3 separate regions of the Homo sapiens genome follow, and regions 1 and 3 are each linked to region 2. Evidence: promoter capture Hi-C in 16 types of primary human blood cells and fetal thymus (Javierre and others, 2016). All regions are on one chromosome and are shown on one strand. The core of a region is centred on a gene start or on the middle of the fragment in contact, and the rest is flanking DNA. Distances in the headings are between cores, read along the strand shown. Region 1 holds the start of E2F5 (E2F transcription factor 5). Region 2 overlaps CPNE3 (copine 3). Region 3 holds the start of CA2 (carbonic anhydrase 2).

Region 1 (2,889 bases), core at 373-2,872, 1.3 Mb after region 2:
GGCCCCTGCAAGTCTTGGTCCTTACATTCAGGGAGCTGCCACTGCTTTATGCAGAGCCTTGAGGATGCAGTGACACTCTCAAGCCAGGTAAGGTGGTCCAGGCACTCCCCTGGGAGCTGGGGCCAATCCTCCAAGTAAGGCCACATTTAGGGAGTCAAAGGGGATTTGCAGTGATTATTGGGCAGTTAGTGTTTTTTGTTTGTTTGTTTCTAAAACTTTAGTTCTTAAACTTCGCGCGGAGTGACCACATTCTCATTATCCTGAGCGCTGTTGAATTCTTCCAAATCCTTCCTAGATCGGTTAAGTCATTCTGTATGACAGAACAGCTTTTGATGCCTGCTCCTGTTTGAAAAATCTGAACGCTGTAAAGGACGACGCAGGGAGAGAGTTTACTGAGCACTTCCACCTCTTTGGGTGAAAGTTGTAAAATATCCCCTTTTCGTGTGACAGCAGATCTCACTTTTGGAAACCCATGACACATGCCAAATGAAGTCACAAATCAAATACCCCTCCTAACTATCAGGGTGATGAAAGAAGTGCACAAGGAAGATTTAATACTATTTTATCGGGGAGGGGCGTGGAAAGAAGTACTCTTTTTTTTTTTTCTTTCATCTGGTAGAGATGGCAGACTGGGTTTTGTTTTTCCTCCTTTTTATTTAAACTACAGGAACATGGTTCCAACTGGAATCGCCTATTAAAACCATCCATTCTTAACAGCAAAATCGATATCCACGGTGTCTCCGGGCAAAGCGCCCGTTACCCCGTGAGCCTCTGCCACAGGTGGACGCAGAGCAACAGACACTCGGTTACCCTCAGGTCCCTGCGCCCGGAGACAGAAGCCACGCGGGCGCGCTCGAGGTCCTGGGCTCTTTGTCGAGAGCCCAGCGTGGCGCCGGGCCCCATTGGTTACGCGTCCGCTCGGTGCCATCCTGGTCCCTCGTCCCTCCCCCATCCCGGCGTCCACGACCCGGGCGCAGGCCACATGGTCCTCGGATTGCCCGGTCCCGGGTCCCCGCAAGGCGCGTCTACACCACGCCGCTAGACCCACGCGGCGAGGGGCTGGGCTTCCCCGGGGGCCACGGGTTCCGAAGTCCGCCCCCGTCCCCGCCTCCGGAGCTCACCGCTTTGAGATCCAGAACGCCGTCCTTGGCCTCCTGCAGCAGCGACACGAACTTGGTAGTGAGCAGCCCCAGGCTCTTCTCGTGCCTGCTGCTGCCGCCCCCGGCGCCCCCGAGCTGCGGCGGCGGGGGCGGCTGCGGGGCTTGCGCCTGCGGAGGCTGCGGCGGCGGCCGCTGGCCCTGCCCCTGCCCTGCCGGCGCCTGCTGGCCCGAGCTCGCGGGCTCTGCCGCCGCCATCGCGTCCCGGCCCCGCGGTGGTCGGGCCCCCGCGCACTTTCGCTCGCCGGCCCCGCCCGCGGCCACCTGCCGGGTCGGCTCCGCTGCGGCCGCTTCCCCGCCCGCCGAGAGCGGTAGTGCGGGTCGCTGGCTGCTGCAAACAACAGGTGTGCGGCGCCCACGGGAGTCTGGGCCGCTTGTCACGCCGGGCCTCCGCCCCCTCCCCAAGCCCGGGGAAGCGTGAATGAGGCCCACGACCGAGGGGGGAGGGGTGGAAACGAGGAGAAGGGGCTGCGAGGGGTGGGGACCTGAGTTTAAATGGCAGGAAGTGACGCCGCCGCCCGCCGTTGCCTAGAAACACATTTTTCTGTAGGAAGGAGGAGCGCACGAGGAGGAGGAGGGGTGTTGGCGCGTGTGTTTCACACTCGCCTCCCTGGCGTTCGCGAGCTGACCCGAGGAGTGGTAATCTCACGCGGCAAAGCAGGGAGGAAGAAAAAAAGGAGACAAAAGAAAAAAAGACTTTTATCTGGGCAGAAAGTCACAATGCCTAGCGGCCAAACGTTTGTGAGCGGTGAAGTTGGTTGACTGCTCAAGTTTGCAGAGCTTCAGCAGTAGGTTACTTTCTCTGGACGGTTTCTGCTATCTTTGCTCTTTTCGAGCTCTAGCATCGTTTGCAAATATTTCAATGACTTGGACCAAGTGCAGAGTTTTACTTCATAGCTCACCCTTTTAGATTCGGAGTACAGAAAAAGGCATCGTGGAGTTTTAGGGTTGGTTTTCATCAATCCTTTCCAAGGCCTTTACTTTCTACATGGAGAAACGTGTAGAGGGAGAGGTTGTGAATTGCCAAAGACATGCCGTTAGATTCCAGATCTCCTGTGTTTGACCAAAGTTCTTGACCAAAGTTCTTAATATCTTATTTGAACCAAATTATATTGTATTTGGAATATTGGGTAGCCACAGGCCCTTGGACTTCAGTGATATTCCAAACTATTGATGGCAAATGACATTATGGAGATCTGAGTAAAAGAAAGTCGTTGGGATTTTTTCCTCATTATATTACAAACTCTTGAGAATCCAGACTAAATTTTAAATGACTTGTTGTCACACTCAACACTTTGAATATAGTAGACAATAAAGATTAGGCGAATGAGACCAGGCGCGGTGGCTTACGCCTGTAATCCCAGCACTTTGGGAGGCCGAGGCAGGCAGATCATTTGAGATCAGGAGTTCGAGACCAACCTGGCCAACATGGTAAAACCCCGTCTCTACTAAAAATACAAAAATTAGCGGGGGGTGGTGGTGCCCGCCTATAGTCCCAGCTACTCCAGAGCCTGAGGCAGGAGAATCTCTTAAACCCAGGAGGCAGACGTTGCAGTGTTGCAGTGAGCCGAGATGCCACCACTGCACTTCAGCCTGGGCAACAAAGCAAGACTCTGTCTCAAATAAAAAAAAAAAAGATTAGGTGAATGAAAATTCTATATGGCAATAATTAATCAAGAAGATTTCATGCAAGAAAGATTTTGCTTAATTTTAAGTAACAATAAACTAACAA
Region 2 (2,770 bases), core at 221-2,720:
AGTTGTATGTCAGCAATATCAAGCATAATGCAGTGCCCTGTGGATGAACATAGAATGAGCAACAATAGCTAAAGCTTCCCCCAAAAAAACATGTAGAGGATTCTCTACCAGCCAGCAGAAAAGTCTTCAAATTTCCAAGGATGGGAAGAATTCAACAGAGAATGAAGACATCTACATGTGAAGTCAGTCTCACAGCAAAGAGACACCACATATCAGAAGAGCATTATTTTTTTCCCTAAAAATGCTTATACAAAAGCTACAAAAACAACATGCCAGGCACAGCTGATTATTTAACCAATTGCTGACAGTTATACTACTGCATTGCTGCCAGGAAACAAATTTCTTCTATTAGCAGCATTCCTCTCTGAAAAATGACTCTGTGCTGGTCTCAATGTTATCCTGAAACCCATTATGGCTGAATGGCAAATGGAAGAAATTACATAAACACTAGGGTCTGGAATCTTGTTAATGGTAATATTCATGAAGATACTGTTTTCATTTCCTTTTAATGTAATTATCCAGTACATGATATACAATTTTTTAAGAGAGCAATAGTATACTTTATCCACAAATCATAATGGGAGCTGGGCATATTGGCTCATACTTGTAATCCCAGCACTTTGGGAGGCTGAGGCAGTAGGATTGCTTGAGCCCAGGAGTTCAAGACCAGCCTGAGCAACAGAGACCTCATCTCTACAAAAACAAAAAATTTTAGGCTGGGCGCAGTGGCTCACACCTGTAATCCCAGCATTTCGGGAGGCCGAGGCAGGTGGATTATCCCAGGTCAGGAGTTTGAGACCAGCCTGGCCAACCTGGTGAAACCCCGTCTCTACTAAAAACACAAAAATTAGCCAGGCATGGTGGTACATGCCTGTAATCCCAGCTACTCAGGAGGCTGAGGCAGGAGAATCACTTGAACCTCAGAGGCGGAGGTTTCGGTCAGTGAGATCACGCCATTGCATTCCAACCTGGGCGACAGAGCAAGACTCCGTCTAAAAAAGAAAGAAAGAAAGAAAGAAAAATGAAAAAATTAGCCAGCCAAGGTGGCATGCACCTGTAGTCCCAGCTACTCAGTAGGCTAAGGCAGGAGGCTCACTCAAGTTCAGGAGTTCGAGGCCACAGTAAGCTATGCACTGCAGCCTGGGTGACAGAGCAAGACCCTGTCGCAAAAAAAAAAAAAAAAAAAATTATGATGAGGAAAAATAAAACAAACGTTTTATACTCTTTTAGTATGAAAGATTTGGCTGGGATAAGTCACCTGGCAAAGAATGCATGAGCAACTAAAGAAGAATTCTATGTAGTATTTTACTCCTTAAAGAGCAGGATAGAAAACACAAATAATCCCTAGGATTAGACAACAGCTTCCCTACTGTACAGATTATTACTTGTTGGACAAAATTTGATCCAAACACGTCTTCTGAAATGCAAATAATCCCTAGAAACACCAAATATATCAATAATTCTCCCAGTCACCCTAACGTTCTGAATCAATATTATAACAGAGATAAACATAAGGAGCTGAGAATTAAGACCTAATATTTAAAGTGGTACCTGATATGTGAAATTTAAGGCATCTGGTCATTCCCATGCCCTGGCTGAAAATCCTGAAGTCTTATCTACTTCCTCTTTTCCCATTCCTCCTTAAACCTACTCTTAGATTTATCCAGTAAAGATGTCATAGAGATTCTGCCTACTAGAACCCCAAATCTCTCCCAAACATGGAGATACAGCCGCTTTCCCATACCCAGAGTCACAACCCTAACTTCAGGTCTTCTGTATCTCTCACCTGCCTTATATAATAGTCTCCTAATGGGTATTCCCACTGCCATTTTCTCTCCATTCACATTATGGTTTTATCACTTCTGATTAAAAAGTGATAGTCCAATGAACTAAGCCTGGAATTCATGGCTCTGCCAACATCTACCCCTAATCTACCTGAACAGCTACCTCTGCCCACCCAAGTTCTTCAAGATCCACTTCAGGCCGGGCACGGTGGCTCACACCTGTAATCCCAGCACTTTGGGTGGGCGAGGTAGGGGGATCACTTGAGGTCAGGAGTTCAAGAACTCAGCCTGGCCAACATGGTGAAACCCTGTCTCTACTAAATATACAGAAATTAGCCAGGTGTGGTGGCAGGTGCCTGTAATCCCAGCTACTCGGGAGGCTGAGGCAGGAGAATCACTTGAACCAAGGAGGTGAAGGTTGCAGTGAGCCGAGATGGTACCACTGCACTCCAGCCTGGGCGACAGAGTGAGACTCTATCTCAAAACAAAACAAAACAAACACTTCAAATGATACTTCATTCATACAGCTGTTGCTGATACCCTGCTGATACCCCTCATGCTGTTATGGCACTGATTCTATTTTCTTTCCACTATTGTTACTTGTATTTGTGGCTCATCACTCCGTCTATATACTGTGAACTGTGGGCAGCGAACATATTTTACCACTTCCTCTTCTTCCTGAAGCATGACATCTGGCACAGGTTATTTGTAGCAGAAAGAGCAATAATGCTGGAGTCAGCGTGTGTCATTCAAATTTCTTTCCCATCACTAATTTGGATGTGTCACCTCTGCCAAATTGTCTATCTGAACTTCAATTTCCTAATTTATAAAATGGGGATATTAAAAAACCCTGACACTAGTCCTTCAATGTAAATAAGGCTAAGAGAGAAAAATAAACTTAATAAAAACCCTGACAACTGTAGGTCTGTAGCATGCTCAGCATATAATAGACACTCTATGAATTGTAGCAATTATTTTATTACTGA
Region 3 (2,871 bases), core at 11-2,510, 1.1 Mb after region 2:
GGAAAGAAGACATGTGAATCCCCCATTGTGGGGAAAGGTACACCCAGACCCCTAGAGAAGAGCAATCATTCCGGAGCCAATCTGCTCAGTTCCAATTTTAGAAGCATCACTTAACAATGGGCTAAATTTTGGGAAAACACGTAATCTGTGCCTCAGTTTCCACATTTGTAATATGGGATAATTAGAAATCTACCTCATAGATGTCGCTGTAAGAATTAGAATCGATATATGTAAAGCTCTTAGATCACTGAGTGCTATATAAATATTAGCTATTTTAAGGTCGTTTTACTGAAATTCAGCAACTGAAATCGGGCAGACACTAATGTCAGGGCTTGTGGTTGCGATTTTGGGATATGCAAGCTCACTTAAGACATTCAAGGAGGTCTGGATCCTTTCCTCACTGCCCAGGCCCGGGCCCACCCCACCTTTAACCGTCAGGGTTCCCCACTACCTGGGAAGCCCCACACCCTCCAAAGATGCGCTAGGTGCGCCAGACGCATGCTCCTCTGCTCCGCTGGCTCCGAAGAACCAGATCTGAGGCCAAGATAAAACCCGATTCCTGATGTCCGACCCCCTAACATTAGAAGTCGAGAGATGAAGGGAAAACTCGGAAATCAGAGCCATGGATTCAAACCAGCACTGGAAAATGCCCCGGGACAGTTCGTGCTGAGCGCCTTAGCCACAGGTGGTGCTGAAGCTGGAGGGGTGGGGTGGGGGTGGAAGGTGGGGGAGGGGGGAGGGGAGTCTCTTAATTTCTCTGCGATCAACAACTAGAATTTTCCGTTACAACCCTTTCCCGCCTCCTCCTAGGTCCGGTTAAAATGATCCCCAGGTCGGGACCCGGGAGGGACTGTCCTCGGGTCCCGCGGCCAGGGCTGCGCCTCCCCTCCCTCGGGCCCTACGCGCCTCCGGCGGACGCGGGGATTCCTCCACAGTGGCCTCGCAGCTGGGGCAAGGGGGACATCCCCGGCGCCGCGGAGCCGCGAGCGGAGCGAGCGCCCGGGGCGCACCTGAGCCTCCAGCACTCCCCGCGGCCGCGGTAAACAGCATGTGCGGGCGCTGCGGGCCCCGGGCCGGCATCCGGGCTCGGGGATCGGGGATCGGGGATCGGGGATCGGGGCGCCCCCGCGCTGGCCGTCGCCGGCACTCACCGTTGTGTTTGCCGTACCCCCAGTGATGGGACATGGTCGCGCTGGCGGTCGGGGCAGGGCAGGAATCGGCACCGATCTGGCGGCGGCGGCTTGGGCGCCTGCACTGTGTGTCCGCGGGTCGCGCCGGCACCAGCTTTTATAGGCTCCCGCCAACTTCGTGCTCGGGGGCGGCCCGGGGGAGGGGGCTCGGGTGGACCTAGGCGACAAGGGGAGGTGGTGACGGGCGGAGGTGAACTCCCCGCGCTCGGGGCGGGGCGGGCCGGGCGGGCGAGTCTCCGGGGGCGGGGAAAACGCCCTCTCGGCTGGCGCCCGGCGGGGCTCCGGGGCTCCGGGGCTCCGGGGCTCCTCTCCCGCCGCCCGGCTCCCCTCGGCCCACGGCAGGGCCCCGGTGTCCTGGGCTGGCAGCGAAGCTCGGAGCTCTGGGCGTGCGGCGGCTGCGGTGGCTCCTGGGCTCCTCCGTCCAACCCGGGCCGCGGAGCCTCTACGCGCACCCCATCCCCCTCCCGGCTGCGGAGTCTGGCGGCGGCGGGGACTGCTCGGGACCCGGACCCCCGGCGCCTTTCGTCCCCTGTCCCCATTGTGACCTGTCTCTTGGCCCCGGAGCCCTCCCGCCCCACCCGCGCCGGGGTCTCCAGCGCGAAGGGCTCAGTCTCTGGTGTCCCCGGCCTGGGGCTGGCAAGCTGGGTTAGGAGCTATGACCTTGGGGCAAATAGGGATACGATCCTAGAGGCGCAGGGGAGCGCGCAGCATGAGTGCTGAGAGGCACGCGCCCTCTGCTGCACGGCCGTGGAATAAAACGAGACAACGGCCCCACAGTCCCCTGCCCGCAGCCCACGCTCGGGCGAGCCTGGAGGATTGCATTTCCTCGTAGGCTGGCAGAGCCTTACATGAAGCGCTCATCTTCTCCTACTTTCCTCCTCTTTAAAAAATTAACGTGGGTGAGGAGACGTCCTAGTTGAGTACATATTGATTTGAAATAACCAAAACTTTTAACAAATCACTTTTCTCAGAAGAATCCAGTAAGAGAAAGATAATTTCTTCCAAAGACATGAGACGTTCCCTGGCTGGCCAAGAAAAATTGGCATCTGGCATACCTAGGAATCATTCAAAATAGTTTAATAGGAAGGACATTTTGAGGCCAGCCAGCATTATGACATTTGTGGGTCCTACGGCATTTCACCTTGGTGGGTCCCTTTTTCATAAACACGCATTTATACCAACACTGACATAAAGATAAATATCTTAATATTATATATTTAAACATTTTCTTTAACCAACACCTAATTTTTTTCTTTTTTGTTCTTATTTTAAAAGGAAACATTTTCCTGGGCATCTAAAAGTATTGTGGACCTGAGACACTGTGCTTACAGGGCCTACTGGGTAAGTGAGGCTGTTTTGAGATATAGAGAGAATTCATTTCCTACAAGGGATTTTGCCACAGAAAAATCCGGGGGTTTGTGGGAAGGAGTTCGGTTCTGTGGTCTCTGCAATCTCTGAGGGCAATAGTATTAGAGTTACAGTTGGGGAAGCAGGACACAGTTTAATGTGATTGTGTCGGCCTTGACATCACATTACTTACCTTTGAAAATATACAGATAAATACAAGGATAAGTTATTAGTGGACATTTTTGCAATATGTATCTCAAAATCACTCTTTACTATTTATTTCAGTCAATTTCATCCAAACAAATATGATTCATGTTTAGACTTACTTGTTCTA

Evidence for each region. The method cuts DNA at HindIII sites, captures the fragments that hold promoters and counts their contacts. A CHiCAGO score of 5 or more calls a contact.
Region 1: a contact is called between the fragment with the promoter of E2F5 here and a fragment that was not itself captured in region 2, in 1 of 17 cell types (naive B cells). The highest score is 6.7, in naive B cells.
Region 3: a contact is called between the fragment with the promoter of CA2 here and a fragment that was not itself captured in region 2, in 2 of 17 cell types (naive B cells and total B cells). The highest score is 6.1, in naive B cells.

Annotation. Positions count from the first base shown.
Region 1 is chr8:85,175,887-85,178,775 of GRCh38, reverse strand. E2F5 (E2F transcription factor 5) reads right to left here and starts at 1,622. Exons shown (of 8, transcript NM_001951.4): 1 at 1,122-1,622. The coding sequence starts at 1,355. E2F5-DT (E2F5 divergent transcript) reads left to right here and starts at 1,735. Exons shown (of 3, transcript NR_134311.1): 1 at 1,735-1,945. RefSeq lists silencers at 762-1,151, 1,162-1,691 and an enhancer at 1,792-1,961. The HindIII fragment of the contact is 15,711 bases long and covers 1-2,889 here.
Region 2 is chr8:86,523,099-86,525,868 of GRCh38, reverse strand. The region is part of intron 2 of CPNE3 (copine 3); the gene reads right to left. Among named protein-coding and RNA genes, the nearest start is that of CPNE3, 10 kb to the right of the region's middle. RefSeq lists enhancers at 2,412-2,461, 2,482-2,581. The HindIII fragment of the contact is 2,787 bases long and covers 77-2,770 here.
Region 3 is chr8:85,462,396-85,465,266 of GRCh38, reverse strand. It overlaps CA2 (carbonic anhydrase 2), which reads right to left and starts at 1,260. Exons shown (of 7, transcript NM_000067.3): 1 at 1,152-1,260. The coding sequence starts at 1,185. CA3-AS1 (CA3 antisense RNA 1) reads left to right here and starts at 352. Exons shown (of 3, transcript NR_121630.1): 1 at 352-685; 2 at 2,466-2,531. RefSeq lists an enhancer at 652-1,151 and silencers at 795-1,264, 1,375-1,694, 1,765-2,024. The HindIII fragment of the contact is 7,146 bases long and covers 1-2,871 here.